Regions from separate parts of the Homo sapiens genome. Here region 1 is linked to region 2. Evidence: promoter capture Hi-C in human tissues and cell types (Jung and others, 2019). All regions are on one chromosome and are shown on one strand. Each heading gives the region's core, a stretch centred on a gene start or on the middle of the fragment in contact. The rest is flanking DNA. Distances are from core to core; before and after follow the strand shown.

Region 1 (4,499 bases), core at 1,094-3,593, 1.1 Mb after region 2:
ATGAACATTCATGTACGAGTTTTAGTGTGGACATCATATGTTTTCATTTTTCTTGGGTATGTACCTAGGAGAATTGTTGAATTAACGTGGTAACTCTATGTTTAACTCCCTGAGGTGCTGTCACACTGCTTTCCACAGTAGCTGTACCATTTTACATGCCCACCAGCAATGTATGGAGGTTATAATACCTACACATCCTCACCGACACCTGTTATTGTCTGTCTGTCTTTTGACAGCCATTTTAGTGAGTGAAAAGGGATGTTTAGTAGTTTTGATTTGCATTTTTCTAATTACTAATGATGTTGAGTGGTTTTCATATGCTTATAGGTTATTTGTATATCTTCTTTGGAGAAATGTCTCTTCAGATCCTTTATCTGTTTTTCAGTTGGGTTATTTATCTTTTTATTATTGAGTCATAAGAGTTCTTGAGGTATTCTGGATGCAAGTCACTCATTAGTTACATGATCTGCAAATAATTTCTCCTATTCTGTGGGTTGTGTGTTCACTTTCTTGATGGTATCATTTGTACCTTGTACTACTGCTGTATCTTCCTGCTGACCAGTTCTGTCAGTCTCATCAATGCCACCCCTTTTCCATACCCACTGTTACTTTTTTTTTTTTTCTTTTTTTTGAGATGTAGTTTTGCTCTTGTTGCCCAGGCTGGAGTGCTTTGGCATGATCTCGGCTCACTGCAACCTCCGCCTCCCAGGTTCAAGCAGTTCTGCTGTCTCAGCCTCCCGAATAGCTGGGATAACAGATGTGTGCCACCACGCCCGGCTAACTTTGTATTTTTAGTAGAGACAGGGTTTCACCATGTTGGCCAGGCCGGTCTGGAACTCCTGACTTCGAGTGATCCACGTGCCTCAGCCTCCCAAAATGCTGGGATAAAAGACGTGAGCCACCATGCCTGGCCCCACTGTTACTTTTATTACTACCTAGACTACACTTATTGAAATCCTATAATTAGCTTCTACTTCAGACTTTCTCCTGCTTTAGTCCGTCAGCAGATCAACCTTCCTTAACCATGCCTCACAGCACGTCACTTAGAAGTTTTCAGTGCTGCCCCAATGTAGACGTCTCATTCGGCTTTTTCTAGATTTATCTCCCATCACTCATTGTCACTCATAGAAGGAAGCACAAGTAATGATGTGTGTGTCACCAGGGTTAGTCTTGAGTGAAAGAGAGCCGAGGGAGATCTGAAATGGCTTTCTGATGGTAATTTCACCATAATCTAGGATCTTGCCGTTAGTGTGATTGGACCAATAACTCAGTGTCTTCAACATATCATACTTATGATGTACCAAACCCGCAAGAGATTAAAGTATACAAACCAGAATGCCATGTGATTTATAATTTTTCTTTCTATGTTAATAAGTGAGATTGGCTTGTAGGGTTTTTTTTGTTGTTGGCCAATTTTGATACCAGAGTTTTGTATAAAATTTATGAATTTTCTCCTACCCTATTGCCTTGTCCTCTTCTCCCCCTCTACTTTTTACATTTCTAGTTTTATCATATTGTGTAATCCATTGTATAGTCACATGTAATCAAATGTGCCCTGTGCATTTCCGCTTTGGAGAATTTATTGATGTTCTCTGTAGCCACGTATATTATCATTTTTGTAAATGTCCTACAGACAGTAGAAAAGGAGTATTATTTGTAGAGTATATAGGTATTGCATTAAATTAGCTTTATTGATAGCTGTCTAAACCTATAGATTCTTGTCCTTTGCCTACTTGATTTATTAAGAATTAAAGAGGGATACTTATATTTCCTGCTACAATTACAGTTCTGTTACTGTTGCCTTATTTTCTAACATTGTACTCTGACACATAAAAGTTCACAGAGTAAACTTCATTGTGAATTATAGGTTTCATCAGTTAACAATAAACTTTCATCCTGATTTTTACAGATGAAATTTACATCTGTAAAATTTTTACAGATGAAATTTACATCTGTAAAATGTAAATTTTACATCTGTAAAAATTTTACAGATGAAATTTACAAAGTAAATTTACATTGAAATTTACTTTGATATTAGTATTGTGTTGCTTGACTTTTGTTTTCATGTGACTTTTTTTTTTTTAAACTTTTGACCTTTTTGGTGATAAATTCTTTCAACTTTTCTATGTCTGAAAAAGTATTTTGGGCCGGGCGCGGTGGCTTACGCCTGTAATCCCAACACTTTGGGAGGCCGAGGTGGGCAGATCACGAGGTCAGGAGATCGAGACCATCCTGGCTAACACAGTGAAACACTGTCTCTACTAAAAATACAAAAAATTAGCCGGGCATGGTGGTGGATGCCCGTAGTCCCAGCTACTTGGGAGGCTGAGGCAGGAGAATGGTGTGAACCCAGGAGGCGGAGCTTGTAGTGAGCTGAGATTGCACCACTGTACTCCAGCCTGGGCAACAGAGCAAGACTCTGTCTAAAAAAGAAAGAAAGAAAGAAAGAAAAAGTATTTTGCCTTCACTTTGAAGATACTTTCATGGGTATAGAATTCTAAGTTGACAGGCCTTTCCGCCCCCTCCCCCACCTTCATTTCAGTATTTTAAAATGGTCTCCTGTCTCCTGGCTTGCATTGCTTCTGAGGTTCTCTGTACACAAGGGGCCTTTTTTTTGTCTGGCTGCTTTTAAGATTTTCTCCACTGATTTTAAGTGATTTGATTATGATGTGCCTTGCTGTAGTTTTTTTCATGTTTCTTGTGCTTGGAGTTTGTTGAGCTGCTTAGGTCTGTGAGTTCGTAGTTTTCATCAAATTTGAAAAAGTTTTGGCTGTTGTTTTCACATATGTATAAAATGTATGTGTGTATGTGTGTATTGTTTATATATATAGTTTTCAATATATAAAACTATATATATAGTTTTCAATATATAAAACTATATATATATAGTTTTCAATATATAAAACTATATATATATAGTTTTCAATATATAAAACTATATATATAGTTTTCAATATATAAAACTATATATATAGTTTTCAATATATAAAAATATATATATATATATAGTTTTCATGTGTCTGATAGCTTATCACATAAAACTTTTTGCCTTCCCCACAACAATCATGTCTACATTAGGTATCTGGAAGTTGTCTCACAGCTCACTGATACTCTATTCCCTTTTTATTTGCCTTTTTTTTTCCTCTGTATGTTTTATTTTGGGTAAGTTTTTGTTGCCATGTTTTCAAGCTCACTAATGTTCTGCAGTGTCAATTCTGTTGTTATTCTCATCCCAATGTATGTTTGTTTTTTAAATTTCTAGATGTTTTATTTGGGTCTCTCTCTCTCTCTCTTTTTTTTTTTTTCAATAGTTTCCCTGTCTGTACCTAACATGCTTAATCTTTCCTCTACTTTCTTGAAAATATAGAATATAGAATTGTTTACCAGTTGTATAAATCTTCTGTCATTTCTGGATCTGTTTCTGTTGATTGATTCCCACCCCCACCTCAGTATCCTGGGTTATATTTTCCTAGTTCTTGGCATGCCTGGTGATTTTTAAATTTGATGTCAGATATGAGTTTTACCTTGTTCGGTGCTGGATATTTTTGTATTATGTAAATGTTCTCAAGTTTCATTCTGGAACATAATTAAGTTAGAAACAGTTTGATCCTTCTGAGGCTTGTTTTTAAGCTTTGTTTGGCAGGACCAGAACTGCATTTTGTCTGGAATTAATTTGTCCCCACTACTGAGGTAAGGCTTTTCTGAATACTCAAGGTTTTCCATTCAGGGCAGTTTTCTTCAATTAAATTTATTTTTTATTATTTCACGTTCTCTGGTTCTTTCTCTCAAGGACATTAACGGGCTGTACATCGATCTCTCTTCTCTGTTCTCCTGCTTTATCATCTTCTCTCTCGCTGTTTTCACTTTCTTGTATTTTAGTAGAAGGTCCCCAAAGTGCCTTCCACATTATCGATTCCATTTTTTTACTGTTGTAATTCTGCTTCTTATTGCCTGTGTAAATTTCTGCTCTATATTAGTTTCCTGATACCCTATCATTAATTCAGTCTGCCCTTTTTTCATATCATTCTACTGTTTTGTCTCATCTTCCTTATACTTTATTCAGAGACTGTGTTTTCATGAAGTTTGTGAAAAACATTTTAAAAATTGTTTAAAATGTACTCTTTGTCTATTTCTTGCTATTTTTTCTTTTTGATATTCTGGAATATATCCACAGACCTGTGTTGGTTTTATTTTGTTTAATTCTTGAGAGGGAAACATTCTGTTCAGGTCTGAAATTTGCTTTTGGGTCCCTTGTTGTATACCCGAATATTGTTAGAATCAGCTCTTAGTTCTTAAGCTAGATGCAGGGCTGAACCACATTGACATCTGGGATTAGTTGAGTGGGGCTGGAGGGGTAGGCCTTAGGCCCTCTCAGGGGAGCTTGAGCTCTGTGTACTTTCTTTGCAGTTGGTGAAATTGGGATACTAGGACCCTCTGTTGTCTTTGGCCCAACTGGCAAATGATGGCTATGCCTTTACCTCCTTCCTGGGGCTACGGAG
Region 2 (4,730 bases), core at 2,114-4,613:
TTGTCAATGAGCCTGTGAAGGAATCCTTGCTAGGGTCCTCAGGCTTCTACTGCAACTCATACTGATAACAACAAAAAGAGAAGCCTCCCAAGCAGAAGGTCAGTCTAATTCAATCACTTAAGGCAGAATTATGGTATCAAGTTTCCACATCACTGAATGACCATGGGTGTAGAGGAGTGTACCATAAAATAACTGTGGGTGTTAGACATTTAACAAGTTGTTTTATTCCTAATTGCTGGCATTTGCCTAACTGTTTTCTTAATTCTAATTTATGTTTTTATGTTCCAGTGTGTTTACACAGCCCATAGTTCCCAATTGCCTTTATTTGCTTAAGTGTTTCTTTATTTACTTTTTTTTTTTTTTTTTGAAAAGAAGTCTCACTCTGTCGCCCAGGCTGGAGGGGAGTGGCACAATCTCAGTTCACCGCAACCTCCACCTCCTGGGTACAAGTGATTCTCCTGCCTCAGCCTCCTGAGTAGCTGGGATTACAGGCGCCTGCCACCAAGCCCAGCTAATTTTTTGTATTTTTAGTAGAGATGGGGTTTCACCATGTTGGCCAGGCTGGTCTCAACTCCTGACCTTGTGATCCACCTGCCTCGGCCTCCCAAAGTTCTGAGATTACAGGCATGAGCCACCGGCCTATTTACATTTTTATATATGTTGCTTTGCTTACATAACTCATTGTTCGGAGTGGGCTAGAAATAACCATAAATCCCCATTGCTAATTAGCCTCATCCTCATGACTGATTAGTCAAGATTATGAGTCTAGAAGGAGGGCAGAGAGGAGTCCTAATAGTGAGTCACAGGATTATTGAATTTTACAGCTGGAAGGAATCTTAGAATTTAAGGCATCTTTCAGTTAGAATTCTGTGGTTTTGCATCCTCAGCGTTGGAGAATTATGAAAGGTTGACCGCTTGCTCCTGCGCCTTTTGGCAAAAATGCTTAAGAATTTGGTGACAGCTTTAAAAAACAAATTAAGAATAAAGAAAAAACCCAATCAATGACGATTATAAGTAACCCATAATGGGGGCTTCAAAGAAGAATTGGAAACTTGACATATCAATGGGGTATAGAAGAGCAGAGAATATTAATGAACATGAAGGGGGTTCTTCTTTGGAGGTAAGTAAGCAGAGTGGATTTTTTGGAACTCCCTCCTCAGCAGCTGTGCAGTTTGTAAGGATTTTAGCTTGCCTAACTGTAAGCTTAGCTATTAGCTTTGCAGTGGGGAGTATTTAAAAGTACACACAACATATGAAGGAAAGAACCTGGAACCGAGTAGCCTGCTTCATTCCAAGAATCCATCTGGCATTTAAAGAACTGCTTGTCCTACATTAAACCCTGCAGAGTAAGAGCCATTTTTCATATCCTCATACCCCTATTTTTGGTTTCAGGTAAGACAGCTTACTGAGTTTGGAGAAGGAACAAAGAGACTTTTCCGAACCACCGAACCAAAGGACTCATCTAGGGTGAGCTCAATGAATCTAAAATCGGGAACACACATTGCAGCCCCTGTTTGGGAAATCAGCTTAAGAGCAATCTCAAGTCTCCACAAGAGGCGGAGGTCCATATTCCAAAATAATGTGAGCCTTCAGTTATTTGTAGGTAGAATTCAATGGAAGAAGGGGTGTTATAGATACGAAAAATCGTGGCTGGCGTTACCAACATTAAATGACTCGTGGTGATGGGGTAAGTTGACAAGTGAAATCCAGTCTCTTCCTAAACAAACGTATCTTTGTAATGAAGAGCTCGTTTTTGCAGCTTCAGTACATCTGGAGGCATCGAATAGCAAACGCTGCCAAAGGAGTAGTCCCTGGATTATCAGGAGTTGCAGAGTGTGTAAAGTGTTGTAAACCTTGAAATTAGTCCTGGACTGAAGGCACTTTCCCTCCTCCCAGACTCGCTTCTCTCTGACACATTTCCCCTTTCAATGGAAAGTCTATGGCAGTCAGGTCCACTCAGCTCAGACTTCAAGTATGTGAGACCACAGGTTCCCACCTTAACTGGTCACCCATTGAGGGACAGCACAAGACCCCGGTGCTGGCGCCAACGCTGAGCTGCGCCCTCTCGGTTACCATGGCGACCGCAGGCGGGGCGAGGCCCCCACTCGCCGCTTCCCCGCCTCTGCCCAGAACCTTTCGAACGCTCCAATTGGGACGACCCTTTCTTGCCTCTGTCCCGCCCCATTCGGCTCTAAGCGCTTTGCGATTGGCCCGGGACGAGCGGCCTGGTACCCAGAGGGCACCACCTCCTGACAGGAAGAGCGGGAAAGTGCACCAGGAGCTGTCCGAGGCGTGAAGCTCACGGGCGCGGCGGGGGAGCACACGGTTGGCTTTGCAGCGAGTTGCCCACTGTCCCATACACAACCCCCCGCTCCCATGACTGCCAAAAGCATGGAGCAGGAGTCGGGGTGCGGGCACACCGTTTGTGGGCCGGCCCGGTCTATCCCGGGGGGCTAGGACGCGACGAGGTTGGAGCGAGGATCCGGCGGCACACTCCGGAGCGCGGAGTATCAGAGGCCAGAGGGAACGGGCCGGGCCCCGGGGGCGGTGCCGGCGGCGGCGGCGGGAGGCGCAGAGCCCAATGAGCGCGCGCACCGCCCCGGGGGCGGGGTCTGAGGAGCGCTCCCCCGCCCTTGCCAGCCCCCGTCCCTCCCCCCGGCGCGGGGCCGCAGTGAGTGAGTGGCACTGGCAGCCTGTCAATCCCTCGGCCCAGCGGCCTTCCAGCCCGGTCCGCGGCGGCTGCTGGCTGGGTGCGCGGCTCCGGCGGCGGCGGCGGCGACTTCTCCCGCCCTATCCATCGGCTGTCCGCCCGGCGCGCGGCCCGCCGGGGCCCTCCTCCGGGCTCAGCGCCCCCGCCGCCTCTGCCCGCCCGCTCCCAAACTTTCCTCCTCCGCCCCCCCTCGCTCCCCGCGGCCCGCCCGCAGGCCTCCTCCTCCGCCGCCGCCCGCCGCCGCCGCCGCTGCCTCCCCCGGGGCCGCCGGGGCTCGGATCCCGCCTGGCCGAGGCGGCGGCGGCGGCCGAGGAGGGCAGTGCGCAGGCTGGCGCGGGGGGCGGCGGGCGTCCCGGCAACTCGGCGGGCGCTGAGGAGCAAGTTGCGCGGGGCCGCCCGGCGGGGCGCGCGGCGGCGAGGAGGCGGCGCGGCGGCCGCGTGAGGGCAGCGGGCGCCGCCGCCTCCGCCTCCGCCACCGCCGCGGAGCCCGGCGCTTCCGCCCGCCGCTTCTCCTCAGCCTCGGCGGCGGCGGAAGCCGGAGCCGGGCGCCCGTCCTCATCGCCTCAGCCGCGGGCCCTGCCGGCCGGGCCGCCCCCTCCCCGCGCGGGCGGGGAGCGCGCGGCCGCCTCCCCCTCCCCCTCCCCCTCTTTCTTCTCCTCCCTCGTCGCCGCCGCCGCCGCCGCCGCCTCAGCCTTCGCCTCAGCCGCCGCCCGCTCCCGCCCGCGCGCGGCGGGATGGACGATCAATCCAGGATGCTGCAGACTCTGGCCGGGGTGAACCTGGCTGGCCACTCGGTGCAGGGGGGCATGGCCCTGCCGCCTCCCCCGCACGGCCACGAAGGGGCGGACGGCGACGGCAGGAAGCAGGACATCGGCGACATCCTCCACCAGATCATGACCATCACCGACCAGAGCTTGGACGAGGCGCAAGCAAAGTTGGTGTCGTCTCATTAAGCATCTTTTGTGTGTGTGCGGGAGCCGGGCCCGCGGCCGAGTCGAGGCCCGGGGTGGCGCCCGGGGCTAGGGCCGCAGCCCCCGGCGGGGAACTTTCTCCGAAAGCCGGCCGCCCGCCCCGGCCTCGGGGGGACTTGCCCGCGCCCCCCGAAGCGGGCGGGAGTCGGCAAAGTTGCTCTGGGGGGCTCGGGACGGACTCGGTGCGGCGCGGATTCCGTGGCGTCCTTTCCCCCGTCCTGCCCCTCGCAGCCCGGCCCCCTCCCAGGGATTTAAACCTCCCGCCCCGACCCCGTGCGGGCCGCGCCGCCGGGAAGTGTAACTTTCTCCTCCGGCGGGGAGTCCCGGCGCCGGCTCCCGCGGCCGCGGGACGACCTCGCGATGCGGGCGGCCACCCGGGCCCGGCGCGGGGCGATGGGCGGTTCCCTGGCGGGTCCGGGTGCGGACGGCCAAGTTCTCGGAGAGGGAGGGCCGCCTTGCAAACTTTGCCGAGCTGTCACCCTCCCGCTGGCCGCAGTCGGCCGGCCTCCTCTGCACAGGAGCGGACGCGGGAGCCCCTCCGCACCCGTCCCCTCCCCCGGGTCGCCTTCGCCTGCCCCCGGGGCGAGGCTCCCCGCGCGGGTTCGCGTCGCGTCTGCAGTGGCCGAGGCTGCTGCCTGCCGGGCAGATGGGTCCGCCTTGTTCCGGCTGCAGCTTTCGCCGCCGGGGCTTGCTGGCTGTCGGGAACTAGTCAACTGGAGTTTTTGTTGACTTCCCACGGTTCAAAAGGGCCTTCCAGAATGGGGGGCTGGAATTAAATCTTGGGTCTAACTTAAAGGAAGGCGCCATATTATTCCATAGGTGATGCTAATACCTTTGTGTTTCGTTATTTGTTTTTTAGGAAACATGCCCTGAACTGTCACAGAATGAAACCAGCGCTCTTCAGCGTCCTGTGTGAGATCAAAGAGAAAACAGGTAAGACGCTGCGCCCCGCAGTGGGCCTGGAGACCCCCGAGGTGGGGGTCGGAGCTACTCCTTCGACTCTCCAGTTGAGAGCTGCTGCTTTTGGGCACCGCCATCTTTGATCATTC

What was found. The method cuts DNA at HindIII sites, captures the fragments that hold promoters and counts their contacts. A contact is called where the count stands out against the background at its distance.
Region 1: a fragment that was not itself captured here is called in contact with the fragment with the promoter of PBX3 in region 2 in 1 of the 25 tissues and cell types used here (IMR-90 fibroblasts).

The regions. Positions count from the first base shown.
Region 1 is chr9:126,812,367-126,816,865 of GRCh38, forward strand. All of the region lies in intron 2 of ZBTB43 (zinc finger and BTB domain containing 43), which reads left to right. Among named protein-coding and RNA genes, the nearest start is that of ZBTB43, 9.6 kb to the left of the region's middle. The HindIII fragment of the contact is 6,307 bases long and covers 1-4,499 here.
Region 2 is chr9:125,744,010-125,748,739 of GRCh38, forward strand. PBX3 (PBX homeobox 3) reads left to right here and starts at 3,364. Exons shown (of 9, transcript NM_006195.6): 1 at 3,364-3,644; 2 at 4,541-4,614. The coding sequence starts at 3,445. It overlaps PBX3-DT (PBX3 divergent transcript), which reads right to left and starts at 1,920. Exons shown (of 2, transcript NR_122032.1): 1 at 1,407-1,920. RefSeq lists silencers at 2,459-2,888, 3,139-3,188, 3,199-3,728, 3,999-4,338. The HindIII fragment of the contact is 5,465 bases long and covers 95-4,730 here.